Regions from separate parts of the Homo sapiens genome. Here regions 1, 3, 4 and 5 are each linked to region 2. The links are contacts of gene promoters, found by promoter capture Hi-C in human tissues and cell types (Jung and others, 2019). All regions are on one chromosome and are shown on one strand. Each heading gives the region's core, a stretch centred on a gene start or on the middle of the fragment in contact. The rest is flanking DNA. Distances are from core to core; before and after follow the strand shown. Region 1 has its middle 76 kb from the start of C21orf91-OT1. Region 2 holds the start of C21orf91 (chromosome 21 open reading frame 91). Region 3 has its middle 81 kb from the start of BTG3. Region 4 has its middle 58 kb from the start of C21orf91-OT1. Region 5 has its middle 31 kb from the start of LINC03147.

The links. The method cuts DNA at HindIII sites, captures the fragments that hold promoters and counts their contacts. A contact is called where the count stands out against the background at its distance.
Region 1: a contact is called between a fragment that was not itself captured here and the fragment with the promoter of C21orf91 in region 2, in 2 of the 25 tissues and cell types used here (lymphoblastoid cells and spleen).
Region 3: a contact is called between a fragment that was not itself captured here and the fragment with the promoter of C21orf91 in region 2, in 2 of the 25 tissues and cell types used here (aorta and lymphoblastoid cells).
Region 4: a fragment that was not itself captured here is called in contact with the fragment with the promoter of C21orf91 in region 2 in 4 of the 25 tissues and cell types used here (bladder, lymphoblastoid cells, mesendoderm cells and 1 more).
Region 5: a fragment that was not itself captured here is called in contact with the fragment with the promoter of C21orf91 in region 2 in 2 of the 25 tissues and cell types used here (dorsolateral prefrontal cortex and spleen).

Annotation. Positions count from the first base shown.
Region 1 is chr21:17,714,950-17,717,649 of GRCh38, reverse strand. No RefSeq gene overlaps it. Among named protein-coding and RNA genes, the nearest start is that of C21orf91-OT1, 76 kb to the left of the region's middle. The HindIII fragment of the contact is 7,162 bases long and covers 1-2,700 here.
Region 2 is chr21:17,817,971-17,820,670 of GRCh38, reverse strand. C21orf91 (chromosome 21 open reading frame 91) reads left to right here and starts at 1,315. Exons shown (of 5, transcript NM_001100420.2): 1 at 1,315-1,368; 2 at 2,346-2,479. The coding sequence starts at 2,353. The region is part of intron 2 of LOC124900465 (a long non-coding RNA gene); the gene reads right to left. RefSeq lists an enhancer at 621-670 and a silencer at 921-1,700. The HindIII fragment of the contact is 15,791 bases long and covers 1-2,700 here.
Region 3 is chr21:17,692,744-17,695,443 of GRCh38, reverse strand. No RefSeq gene overlaps it. Among named protein-coding and RNA genes, the nearest start is that of BTG3, 81 kb to the right of the region's middle. The HindIII fragment of the contact is 9,859 bases long and covers 1-2,700 here.
Region 4 is chr21:17,732,711-17,735,410 of GRCh38, reverse strand. No RefSeq gene overlaps it. Among named protein-coding and RNA genes, the nearest start is that of C21orf91-OT1, 58 kb to the left of the region's middle. The HindIII fragment of the contact is 6,428 bases long and covers 1-2,700 here.
Region 5 is chr21:17,914,966-17,917,665 of GRCh38, reverse strand. It overlaps a transcript of CHODL not described here. Among named protein-coding and RNA genes, the nearest start is that of LINC03147, 31 kb to the right of the region's middle. The HindIII fragment of the contact is 4,822 bases long and covers 1-2,700 here.

The sequences.
Region 1 (2,700 bases), core at 19-2,518, 100 kb after region 2:
TTTTTTTTTTTGCCTTATGTCTCTGGCCAAGGCTTCCAGTATTATGATATATAAGAGAGGTAAAAGTGTGCATACTTGTCTTCTTCCAGTTCTTAGGGGGAATGCTTTCAACTTCTCCCCATTTAGTATAATATTGGTTGTAGGTTTGTCATACACTGCCTTTATTATTTTGAGGTATACTCCTTCTGTGTCTAGTTTGTCAAGTGTTTTTATTATGAAGGGATTTTGAATTTTATCAAATGCTTTTTTTTGCATCTATTGAGGTAATCATCTGGTTTTCATCCTTAATTCTGTTTATGTGATGAATCACATTTATTGATTATGTGTGTTGAACTGTCTTTGTACCCCTGGAATAAAACTCGCTTCATCATGGTGTATTATCTTTTTTATATATTGTTGGGTTGGGTTTGCTAGTATTTTGTTGAGGACTTTTCCATCTACGTTCATCAGGGATATTGGTCTGTAGGTTCTTTTGTTGTTGTGTCCTTGTCTGGCCTTAGTATCAGGGTGATCCTGGCCTCATAGAATGAGTTAGGGAATTGGGCCAGGCATGGTAGCTCACTTAAATAATCCCAGAACTTTGGGAGGCCGAGGCAGGGGGATCACTTGAGGCCAGGAGTTCAAGACTAGCTTGGACAACATGGCGAAACCCTGTCTCTTCCAAAGAAAAAAAATGCAAAAATTAGCCGGGCATGGTGGCACATACCTGTAATCCCAGCTATTTGGGCGGCAGAGGCATGAGAATTGCTTGAACCCAGGAGGAGAGTGAGATTCTATCTCAAGGAAAAGAAAAAAAAAATTAAAAAGAATGAGTTAGAGATAACTTCCTCCTCCTTGATTTTTTAGAACAGTTTCTGGAGGATGGGTACCAGTTCTTCTTTGTACATTTGGTAGAATTCGCCTGTGAATCCATTCAGTCCTGGTCTTTTTTTATTGTTGCTGGGAGGGTTTTTCATTACTGATCTCACTACTCATTATTGGTCTGTTCATAATTTCTATTTCTTCCCAGTTCAATCCTAGAAGGTTGTATGTTCCAGGAATTTATCCAATTTCTTTAGGTTTTCTAGTTTGTGAGCATACAGTTGTTTATAAATCTCTGATGATCTTTTGTATTTCTGTGGTCTCAGCGGTAATATCTTCTTTTTTATTTCTGATTGTGTTTATTTGGATCTGCCCTCTTCTTTTTTTCTTAGTCTAGCTAGTGGTTATCAATTTCATCTTTTCAAAGAACAAACTTTTTGTTTCATTGATCCACTGGGTTTTGTTTTTGGTCTCAATTTCATTTAGTTCTCCTCTGATCGTTGTTATTTCTTTTCTTCTGCTAGCTTTGGGTTTGGTTTGTTCTTGTTTTTCTAGTTGCTTGAGATGTGACATTAGGTTGTTAATTTGTGATCTGTCTATTTTTGTGTGTGTTTTGTGTAGGCATTCAATGCTATAAACTTCAATAGGCCCTAAATCTTATGATTGATGTCCTCATAAGGGGAAAGGGAGTTGAAGACACTCCCTGAAGACACACATAAATGGAGATGGCCATGTGAAGTTGGAGGCAGAGATTGAAGTGATGTGTCTATAAGTCATGAACGCCAAGGATTGCCAGAAGCTACCAGAAGCTAAAAGACAGGCATAGAGCAAATTCTTTCTCACATCCTCCAGAATGAACCAATCCTACTAACACCTGGATTTCAGACTTCCAACCTCTAGAACCATGAAAGAATAAATTTTTGTTGCTTTAAGCCACCCAGTTTTGTGGTATTTTGTTATGGTAGCCCTAGGAAGCTCATAGGGGAATGCCATTCCAATATCCAAAAAGCAACGCCAATAATTAGTTTAAAATTTTGATCTGAAACTGAGGAATTACTCTAGTAAAGGCTCTTAGCCAGAACCTGTAATGATTAGGATAAATATCCTTGATTATATCCCTCCCAACCATCATCCCCTAGAAAATATGGGTATCCACATTTGTTGTTGAGGGTAGTCTATGAGGCCAGGCACGGTGGCTCACATCTATAATCCCAGCACTTTGGGAGGCTAAGGCAGGTGGATCACTTGAAATCAGGAGTTCGAGACCAGCCTGGCCAACATGGTGAAACATGTCTCTACTAAAAATACAATAATTAGCTGGGCATCTTGTGCCTGTAGTCCCAGCTACTTGGGAGGATGAGGCAGGAAACTGCTTGAACCCAGGAGGTGGACGTTGCAGTGAGCTGAGATCATGCCACTGCACTCTAGTCTGGGTGACAGAGCAAGTCCCTGTCTCAAAAAAAATAGTCTATGAGATCTCAAATATTCTCTTTGGCAATCTGAGAATTGAGAAAAGAAAGACATAAAATTAAGAGATGTTAAAAAGAAAACAAGATATGACAGAGAGCATTGAGAAAGTTGTTTTACCAGAACACTCCAAATTCTGCTTCAAAGGGCAGAGAAGCTTTTATTATGTTTGAGATTGGTGTGTTATTTGACCACCTGACTATTGTAGCTGCTCAGAAGTCTCTTAGAGATTTCCTCAAATTCAGTCAACACTTTTTAAGAAGGTCTGGAAGATAACCTTTTAGGCCTTTTCTGGAATGTAAACATCATTATCAATTGCCTGTAAGAATCTAAAGGTCATCCTAATTTATCATGGGCCAGTCTACCTCCCAGGTCAACCAAATTGTTGCAATAGGTTCATCATCAGTGTTTTTCTCTACCCAGCACAACCTC
Region 2 (2,700 bases), core at 66-2,565:
ATTGAAAAGATGGGTAGAATCCAACATGCAAGGTATCTTAGTCGTAGTTACCTAGAATGAGAAATTCGAAGAGAAAAAGCACAGGCTTTTCATTTCAATTAGTGCATCTCAAACTTCGATGAACATAGGAATCTCCTGGCGGTCTTGTTAAAGTGCAAGTATTGATTTAGGAAATCTCGAGTGGGGCCTGAGATTCTACATTTCTAACAGGAAACCAAGTAATGTCAATGTTGTTTGTTCATCTACTACAATTTAGGTGGCAAGGACACAGATCGCTCCTGCGAGGCACAAATGCCATAACTGGAGTGCTAATTTGGCCCAGAAGTTTCCAAGATCTAGACAGTCCATTCCTAACCATCAGTTCAAGAATGCCTACATGTAGATTGACAGGCTAGCCCTCTTTCTATGTGAGTGCAACCAGAACACATACATATGATGCTGTAGAAAATAACATTGATCTTAGGTCAGTAGCCTTCGGTTCAAGTCCCAGCCTTTTTCTAACCAACTGTGATAACCTGGGTCAATTACTCGTAGGCTGCAACATGAGAGAACAGTTCCTGTTTCTCCTCTGTAGGTTACTGTGAGGACTACAATGGAAAATGTAAGTGAAAGTACTGCAAGAACCATACCCTAAAAAAAACAGAATAGCTTAAACAAAAGTCAAGCAAAGAATTTGAGAACCAAGCAGGACCTAAAAATAAGAGGTGGGGCTTCGGGATTTTTCCCGTGGGCGTTGAGGGATGTACCATATTGGGGGCAGGGGCGCCCCACAACAAATAATGTATTTGAAAAGATTCTGTATTTGAAATTATGCCTCTATCATGACACCTGAATATGAACTTTTCCTTCGTTAGATACTTCAACTGGCACTTAACTATAAGTTCAGTGACAGTATTCTGCTTCTTTCTCCTGAAGTCAAAGTGCCACCCACGCACCTCTCCCGTTCTGCCATCCACCCGCGGCTTTCCTACCCCCGCCGCCTGCGGCCCCCGCCCCGGGGCAGTAGTTTGCACTAGGCTGAAGGGAGAGGTGGAACGGATTCGTCTATCTACGCACCTCGAGGAGGGGTGTGTGAGGAGCTACGTTCCAGAGAACGGTAAGAAACTCCGGCCAGGAAACACGGGATCACAGGAGAACTCGAGGCGAAGGTGCGGCGTCGGTGCAGGAGCGGAGGGGCGGACCCACAGCAGCCCGGCGAGCGCGCAGGTGTGCCCGCGGCCGCGCCACCCTCCCCGCAGCCTTTACGGGATGGAGCCGGCGGGAGAGGGCGGGGCCAGGCGCGCGGCGGCCGCCTCTGCTGCGGCCGGAAACAATAGTGGAGGAACCCGAGCCGCACGGAACGGCGGTGGTGGCCCGCGGAGCCGGACGGTAAAGACCCCGCAGCCCTGCTCCCATCCCACCTGAGCCCCGACCCCCAGTCCCATCGTTCCGCCTCCTTCGAGTTCCGAGCCCCGTGGCCCCTCGCGCTGCTGCGCGCCAGGCGCCCCGACGGACAGACCGACGGAAAGACGGACTTGGGTCCGCGACTCCCTGGGGGCGGCCGCGCGCCCCCAACGCCGAAGGCCGGGCCAGGACCCGGCTCCCCGAGACGCTGAGGCTGGGCGGACCGGCCGCCGTGGCCCTCGGACGCTTTCTTCCCTCTGGGAGGAATCCCGGAGCGATGGGACGAGGCTCTCCCGCCCGCCGGGCTCCAGGATGCCGCGGCTCTCCCAGCTCCGGCTTGGGCCCCTCCGGCGGTGCCCGGCCGGTACCGTGAAGCCGCCGCTCGGCCTTCGGTGTAGTTGCCCCGGACACGGCGGGACGCCCTCCCCGGGTATTCGGTACCCACGTGCATTTTGCTGCCGCCGATCTCCGTTCGATGCGAAGCTTCGCAACTCCGAGTTCGCGAGGCGCATCTGAGGTTCCCCCAATGAAGTTAGCAAAGCAGTGTCCCGTGCAGGTCGTTTTTCCTGTTTCTCACAGCGTTAACTAGGTTGACAGAACCTGGTAGCTGAAAAGGCCTCGCTGCTAAGCCCTCTGATTATTCGAGGTTGGGGGACGAAGGAGGAGGACTAGAATGCCGGCAAATCTCTTTCCTTCAGGTGCCACTAACCCAATCAACTATAGGACAAAAAAGACACGGACATAGTGTCACCTATGGCCTGGCTTTAAGTTTTACTAGCTTTGTGTCTTTCCACAGGAAAAGTGCAATGTTGGAGTGCAAGTATGGCGATGCTTGTTTGATGGAGCTTTTGCTTTAAATGAGCTGAACAGCATCCTTATTTCCTAGAAGTTCCCAGTAAAGGGAACTACCCCAAAGGCAGGTTCATGAAATTGTGTAACTTTCCTTTTCTGTTTCTTAATAGGGGCACTATGAACGAAGAGGAGCAGTTTGTAAACATTGATTTGAATGATGACAACATTTGCAGTGTTTGTAAACTGGGAACAGACAAAGAAACACTCTCCTTCTGCCACATTTGTTTTGAGCTAAATATTGAGGGTAAGGACACAGTATAGTTTTGATCTTATGGAATGAATTTAACACAGCTGCTTTGTACTGATTGTAAGGTAAAACTAAAATGTCTTCAATGATTGGAAATTGTGCTAAGTATGAATAGTGTAGAGATTTGTTAAAGATAAGGTTTCTGGAAATGAAGGTGCAGTTAACAGAGTTACGAATTTAAGAGAAATCTTTTTTTTTTAAAGACCCCTGCAACAACC
Region 3 (2,700 bases), core at 24-2,523, 130 kb after region 2:
CTACTTTAGAGAATGGAGTAAGTCATTCTTAGTCTTTACCCGCTTGCGTTACCAATATCTAAAATGGGAGCCAGGCACAGTGGCTCATGCCTGTAATCCCAGAACTTTGGGAGGCCAAAGCAGGCAGATCACTTGGGGTCAGGAGTTCAAGACCAGCCTGGCCAACATGGTAAAAACCCATGTCTACTAAAAATATGAAAATTAGCTGGGTGTGGTGATGCACACCTGTAGTCCCAGCCGCTCAAGAGGCTGAAGCAGAATGTGGGGAAAAGAAAAAGAGATCAGATTGTTACTGTGTCTGTGTAGAAAGAAGTAGACATAGGAGTCTCCATTTTGTTCTGTACTAAGAAAAATTCTTCTGCCTTGAGATGCTGTTAATCTGTAATCTTACCCCCAACCCTGTGCTCCCTGAAACATGTGCTGTGTCAGCTCAGGGTGAAATGGATTAAGGGCTGTGCAAGATGTGCTTTGTTAAACAGATGCTTGAAGTCAGCATGCTCTTTAAGAGTCATCACCACTCCCTAATCTCAAGTACCCAGGGACACAAACACTGCGGAAGGCCGCAGGGACCTCTGCCTAGGAAAGCCAGGTATTGTCCAAGGTTTCTCCCCATGTGATAGTCTGAAATATGGCCTCGTGGGAAGGGAAAGACCTGACCGTCCCCCAGCCCGACACCCGTAAATGGTCTGTGCTGAGGAGGATTAGTAAAAGAGGAAGGAACGCCTCTTTGCAGTTGAGACAAGAAGAAGGCATCTGTCTCCTGCCCATCCCTGGGCAATGGAATGTCTCGGTGTAAAACCCAATTGTACATTCCATCTACTGGGATAGGGGAAAACTGCCTTAGGGCTGGAGGTGGGACACGCGGGCAGCAGTACTGCTGTTTAAGGCATTGAGATGTTTATGTGTATGCATATCTAAAGCACAGCACTTAATTCTTTACCTTGTCTATGATGCAGAGACCTTTGTTCACGTGTTTATCTGCTGACCTTCTGTCCACTATTATCCTATGACCCTGCCACATCCCCCTCTCCGAGAAACACCCAAGAACGATCACTAAATACTAAGGGAACTCAGAGGCCGGCGGGATCCTCCGTATGCTGAACGCTGGTCCCCTGGGCCCCCGTATTTCTTTCTCTATACTTTGTCTCCGTGTCTCTTTCTTTTCCAAGTCTCTCGTTCCACCTAACGAGAAACACCCACAGGTGTGGAGGGGCAAACCACACCTTCGGCAGAAGAATCGCTTGAATCCGGGAGGCGGAGGTTGCAGTAAGCCGAGATTGCGCCACTGCACTGCAGCCTGGATGACAAAGTGAGTGAGACTCCATCTCTAAATAAATAAATAAATAAAATGAATAGGTTTGGCCTTGTAGAGTTCCTGAACGAGGCAGGAAGTGGGCTGGTTATCTCGTATCCATCAGAGTGCAGGCTCTGGGCTTAGTCCTGCTATTACTGTGCATTGCCTGAGTGCTTGGGCAGTTCATGACCACTGGGGCTCCAGCCTTCTCCCATCCTTCCCCACATGTGCCCAGTGTACATAGCTGGGCTCCTGACTCAACATCATCAGCAGCGACCCAGTCTTCCCCAAAGCTGGCAGCTGCAGGAAGAACTCTTAATTACTTGACTGGGGCCTAACGATCTGCCAAACCCTGACACTCCCTTTTCTGTGGGCTGAGTCCTGGCCATTAGTGAAGGTCTTAACCCAAAATATGGACAACCCCAGAGAAAACAGTTGTTGCAAACAGAGAGTTATGCAAACCAAGGTTTTCAGCAAGTGGATGACATTTTGGGGTTTATGTTTCAGGAGGATGAATTATTAAAAAAAAAAATAGGGGGAAATGCAGCAAAGCATTTAGAAACTGGTGTCGGCCGGGTGCGGTGGCTCACGCCTGTAATCCCAGCACTTTGGGAGGCCGAGGCGGGTGGATCACGAGGTCAGGAGATCGAGACCATCCTGGCTAACACGGTGAAACCCTGTCTCTACTAAAAAAAACATACAAAAATTAGCCGGGCGCGGTGGCGGGCACCTGTAGACCCAGCTACTCGGGAGGCTGAGGCAGGAGAATGGCGTGAACCTGGGAGGCAGAGCTTGCAGTGAGCCGAGATCCCGCCACTGCACTCTAGCCTGGACGAAAGTGCGAGACTCTGTCTCAAAAAAAAAAAAAAAAGAAAAAAGAAACTGGTGTCATAGTTTAGGGAAAAAGACAGTGAAGGAATAATTTCTCAAAGTAGTGGCAGAGAGAATGGAGAGGAAGGGACTGAGAACTTGGTCACAGATTAGAGGCAGACGGGACAAAGGCAAAGATGGTGCCAAGATATCTAGTTTTTATAAAGCAACATTTTAGCTAGATCAGCTATATTGCTTTTGCATCATTTGTTACCTATTTTTTAACCATACTTAAAATGTTCACTCATAGGGAAGTACTATTATTAACCAGTGTCGCTGTGTGTCATAGCCCATCTCTAGAAAGCACTGTAAGGAGAGCCGCATGGAAAACCTTTCTTCTGGCTTAAACAAAGTTCCTCCACCATGGATGTCAAAAGTGCTTGGAATGGTAAAGCAATCATTTAACCACCAAAAGTAACACTATTATTTTCACTTCAAAATAATCCCTTGAACTTCTATCTTGTAAAAATAAAAACCAAGAGGCCGAGTGCAGTGGCTCACGCCTATAATACCAGCACTTTGGGAGGCTGAGGCAG
Region 4 (2,700 bases), core at 62-2,561, 85 kb after region 2:
AGGACAAGATTTGCAGAGCCGGACCTTCAAAGAAAGACAGATACTGAGAGCTACCCACAGATTGGATTTGAGCATTTAGCTGAAAGAGCTCTTGAAAGAATGGACCCCGAAATTTAATCAAAATTAAGCTCTCTTCAGTCATAGTCTTCTCTATTTAGATTTTTTTCTTAAGTATAGGAGAGAGAGAGAGAGAGTGTGTGGGTGTTCTGATGGGAATTTTGTATAATCAAGACCTTGGATAGCCAGAAAGAAATAACACACTAAATTTTTTTGAAAGTCTAATGCCATTCAAGATGGATATCTTTGTTTGAAATAGTAAAAACAAAATATGCTAGCAGGCCCTTTCCCAGATCTTGCTCAACTTGAAAAGTAAATATAGAAAGAAATAGGTTAATTCCTGTCCCAATCAAAATACTGCTTTCTCCTTATTGTATCTGGGGAGTCAAACTATAGGTCAGCATCCAAGAAAAGATTTTAGTCTCCCTCTTCACCTAGAGTTTTCCTTAAGATTCTAAATTCACCAAGTCCCATCTCTTTTCTCATCTATAATTCACATTTGCTTTAATTGTCCTCTGTTCCTCTTTCCCTCTCGCCCTTCCTTCTAACCTCCCTCCCTCACTCTAAAAAAAACAAAACAATAACAATAAAACCGTCCCAATGTGTTGAGGATTTGCTGATCAGTTCACTGTGGTACGAAGCTGTCAATGGACAGTTTTTCTAAAATATACTCTTTTCTGTTCAACTGGACTAGACACTGGTCTACCTGTTATCAAGTTCCAGATTCACAACCCAGTGCTTTTTAGACATCTTTCCAGAATGACTGTGACAAGGAAGCAGCAGAGAGCAGCTCAGTCTTCTCCAGAGGTACCAGGACAAAAACAGGAGGCTGAATGCATTGTGGTGATTCTCAAAGGTACCTCATGGAACTTGAGTAAGCAATTCTACTCTACAAGAGGGGCACACTACCTAGAACAGCAATTAGAGTTGATAAGGCAATCAAATTGAAAAACGAGGTTTATTCTCTCACACACACTGCATTTTTATTCCGAATTACCCTTTTCATTAAAAATAAAATCCTCCCCCAGTATGGGTTGGAACTGTGTCCCCGTCCAAACCTCATGTTGAAATGTAATCCCCAATGCTGGAGGTGGGGCCTGGTGAGAGGTGATTAGCTCATGGGGGCAGTTTCTCATGGTTTATCGCCATTCCCCTTGGAGCTGTCATTGCAATAGTGAGATCTGCTTGTTGAAAAGTGTGTGGCACCTCCCTCCTCTCTCTTCCTCCTGCTCTGGCCATGTGAAGCGCTGGCTCCCCTTTGCCTTCTGCCATGACAGGAATCTTCCAGAAGCCTCCCCAGAAGCAGAAGCTGCCATGCTTCCCAGACGGTCTGCAGAACCACGAGCCAATTAAACCTCTTTTCTTTATAAATTACCCAGTCTCAGGTATTTCTTTACAGCAATGTGAGAACAGACTAATACACATCCCCCCACCTCGATCACCCCAATCTAATCATGAAAACACAAACTCAAACAGAGAAACCTTCTACAAAATACCTGGCCAGTACTCCCTGAATTTGTCAAGATCATGACAAATAAAGAAAGACTGAGAAAGTATTCGGAACAGAACAGACTAAAAGAAATGGCAACAAATGCAATATTATCTCCTGCATTGGATCCTGGAAGAGAAAAAGGACATTCATGGAAAAACTAGTGACATCCAAATAACCTAAGCGTAGTAAAGTACCAATGCTGGGTTTTAGTTTTGACAAATCTGTCATGAGAATGTAAATGGTTAACATTAGAGAAACTGATTGAGGGGTATACAGAAACTCACTACTTATTTTGCTAATTCTCTATTAATCTTAGCTTATTCTAAAATAAAATGTTTATGTACAAAATAAGAAATAAAACCTTCATCTTATTTTCTCCCCTCTGGCAGCTGCAATACTAAAATATAAAATAACATTTTATATTACGCAATGTATTCGTCTCTGATCTATATGATTTTATTTAATACTCAGAACAGCTACATGTGTTGCCAGGCTTGATATTATCGCCCTTATTTTACACGTGAGGAAATGGAAGTTTTGAGAGGTGGTGACTTGCCCATATTTCACTGTGTTGGTTAGGGCACAAGCTAAGCTATTTTTACAAGAAGATTTCGAAAATGCAATAGCTCAAAAAAAATTATTCCTTATTTTTCTCTCCTGAAACAGTCAAAAGATGTCATGAAATTGAGGGCCCAGGCTGCTATCTTGCTGTTCTTGGGTTTGCCCATGTCATTAGGCAAAAACAGGATCCACCACATCTGCACGCCAGCCCAGAGAGAAGAGGAAAGATTAGGAAGCAGGGTCTTATAGTTAAGGACATTGTACACAATTGCCTACATCATTTTAATTTGCAACCCATTAACCAAACTTAGCCACATGGCTACTCCTAACCTAGAGAAGGCTGGGGAATGTAGTCCAGCTGGGGGGCTACAACTCAAGAAGAAAAAGAGAGATAATTATGGGGACAATTAACCAAATCTACCATATTTCCAGGCATCTTAGAAGTGGAAGGGAGGCTTTAATCAAGACCTTCTGATTTCAGGTTTGATGCTATGCCTCTTGCCTGTTGAATATACATTTGTACTCTACTCATCTACATATAAAAGTAAAACAAACAGTAAATGCTGCTAATTTTTTATTTTACTTAATAT
Region 5 (2,700 bases), core at 156-2,655, 97 kb before region 2:
GTAATCAGATGGCAAGAGAAGAGTGAGGTCAGGGTGTGTCCTTCCCTGGGTTGTCTGCATCCCTCTACAGATGGCCCCACCTTGGGTAGGGCATGAATCTCTTCCAAGTGTCCCCTCCAGAGTCTGGTACACTCCTTCCACCTTCTTGTTACTCTCTGTGGTCGCTAGCCCCAGGTTATTTTACTGCTGTGTTCTTCAGGGTTTTTCAGAGAAACAGAACAAATAGTATAAGGATATAGATATAAATACGTGAGAGGGGACTTACCAGGGAATTGGCTCACTCAATTATGGAGGCTGAGAAGTCCCACGATCTGCCATCTTCAAGCTGGAGAACCAGGAAAGCCAGTGAAGTAGCTCAGTCTGAGTCCAAAGGCCTGAGAGCCTGGGCAGGATTCCTGGTGCAAGTCTCAGAGTCCCAAGACCAGAGAACCTGGGGTCCTGATGTCCTATGGCAGGAAAAGAAAGTTGTTTCAGCTCCAGAAGAGAGAGAGTGAATCTGATTTTCTTCTGCCTTTTTGTTCTATCTGGGCCCTCAGCTGATTGGATGGTGCTCGCTCACATTCAGTGAGAGTGGATCTTCCTTACGTAGTCTGCTGGCTCAAATGTCAATCTTTTCCAAAATCGCCCTCATAGACCCAGAAATAATGCTTTACCGGCTCTCTGGATATTACTTAATGCAGTCAAGTGTACACCTAAAATTAGCCTTTACACTGTCCCTTGTTGAGTCTCCTTAACCCTTTCCTCACCTTTGAAAATAATCCCTTCATCAAACTCCCCTCCATTAGCCCATTGGAATATTTGCTATACCTTTCTTGCTGGGACTCTGACTTATACACAGGAAACCTAATAAGAAATGTGCAAAATGTATGTGAAGAAACTATGTAACACTAGTAATGAACAACAACAACAAAAATAGGTATGAACGAATAAAAAAAGCATACCATGTTTCTGAATAGGAAAAATCAACATGATAAAGCTGGAAACCTCCATTAATTCATAACTTTAAATTGATTCTAGTAAAAATACTAGCAATAATTTGAACTACTGAAGCTAATCTTAAAGTTTCTATAAAAATATGAGCAAAAATAATTTTAAAAAATCTAAAAAAAAAACAGTAACAAGGAGGAAGTAGCTCTACAAGTCATAAAATATATTATAAAGCTACAACATTAAGAAAATACAGTGCCTGTTCAAAAATAGATAAATAATTCACTGGGATAGAAAAGAAAGCCCAAATATAGACCTAAATATATAAAATAATTTTTAGTATATCATGTGATGTTGTTTTCAATCAGTTGAAAAAAAGATGAATTTGTAATAAATGACTTGGAGACAATCTGGATATAAACTGGAAAAAAATAAGGTTCTTTTTCTTAATCTCGGTTAATCTGGGCTCCCTTGCCACTTTCCTCTGAGGTTGCATTTAAGTTCTGGGGCTATTTGCGGTATCCAAGCATCAGAAGGAGACCATCTGGCTCTGTGTGTAATCTGAGCCTGGGGACACACACTGGTATACCCATTGCCTCCTCTGAAGGAGACATGCCTCATCCCTGTCTGCATGGCTCCTTCAGGTCCAACACAATCTCTGCTGCTTCTGGGAGACTACTGGCGATTAAGACTCACTCTACATTCATACCATGCTGGGGGTACAGAACATCTGTATGATTGTCTAAGGTGTACCAGGTACCTAGACATGCCATGCGGTCATTTATTGCCAAATATGACACTTAAGGAGAATGGTTAAGCGTTCTTAATAGTCCTATATACCGGAATGTATATCTCTAATGACTGAAGCATTGTTAGGTTATAGGCTTATAAGCTCAAAGACAGGCAGCACAGCGGGTAAGTCAAGATTCATCCAGGCGACAGAGGCAGATGGGATCTTCTCATCTCTCCAGTGTTATTCCTAGGGAGCAAGGCACAGATCACTTTACTCACAAATTTCACAAATTCATCTGAATTTTTCTCTCTGCCTGGAAAAGCTTTAACCTCCTCAAAACCTCAGCTCTGGCTTTTTATTCTCTTTGAGGCTTAGCATTCTGGAAAAGAAAAGCCTGAGAAAGAATGGAAACATATATGTTTTCACCAAACCTTCATGCTCCACATTCCTCTATAGGAAATGACCACAAACAGCACAGCTTCTTGAAGAGAGGAAAGGGAAAAAGGATGAAGGCAAATATCAGGACAGAAAAAGTTGAGATTTCAAAAATCTATAAAGTACCATATTTACCACGTAAAAAGATCACTTAAACAGACATTTTATGTCACAACAAAACCAACTAGAGAATCAACTGGTCCACTTGATAATAATACATAAGCATATCCATGAGTGAAAGAGGAAAAACAGAGATTAAATTCTTAAACTACCTTAGGCTTTGCTGAGGAATTCATTTCAAAGACTTCCACTAATAATGTATACTTCCAATTAGACATACTGAAGTACTTCATTAAATGGGAGAAATCTTCCTCAATTTTTTTTCCTGTTTCCTCTCCACTGCACCATTCTCGAATAGCAGCCTTCCTTTTATTCACCTTCTCTTTACTTGCCCCTTAGGAAGAACTCTCCTCTCCTCCTCATATATGTGCCTCACCTGAAGATGCCACCACTAGGCCATTCAGTCAATGACCCACCCACCATCTCTACCAGTTCCTTCCCCTCCTCACGCCAAAATGTGCAGGCCACTTGTCTTACACCTACTT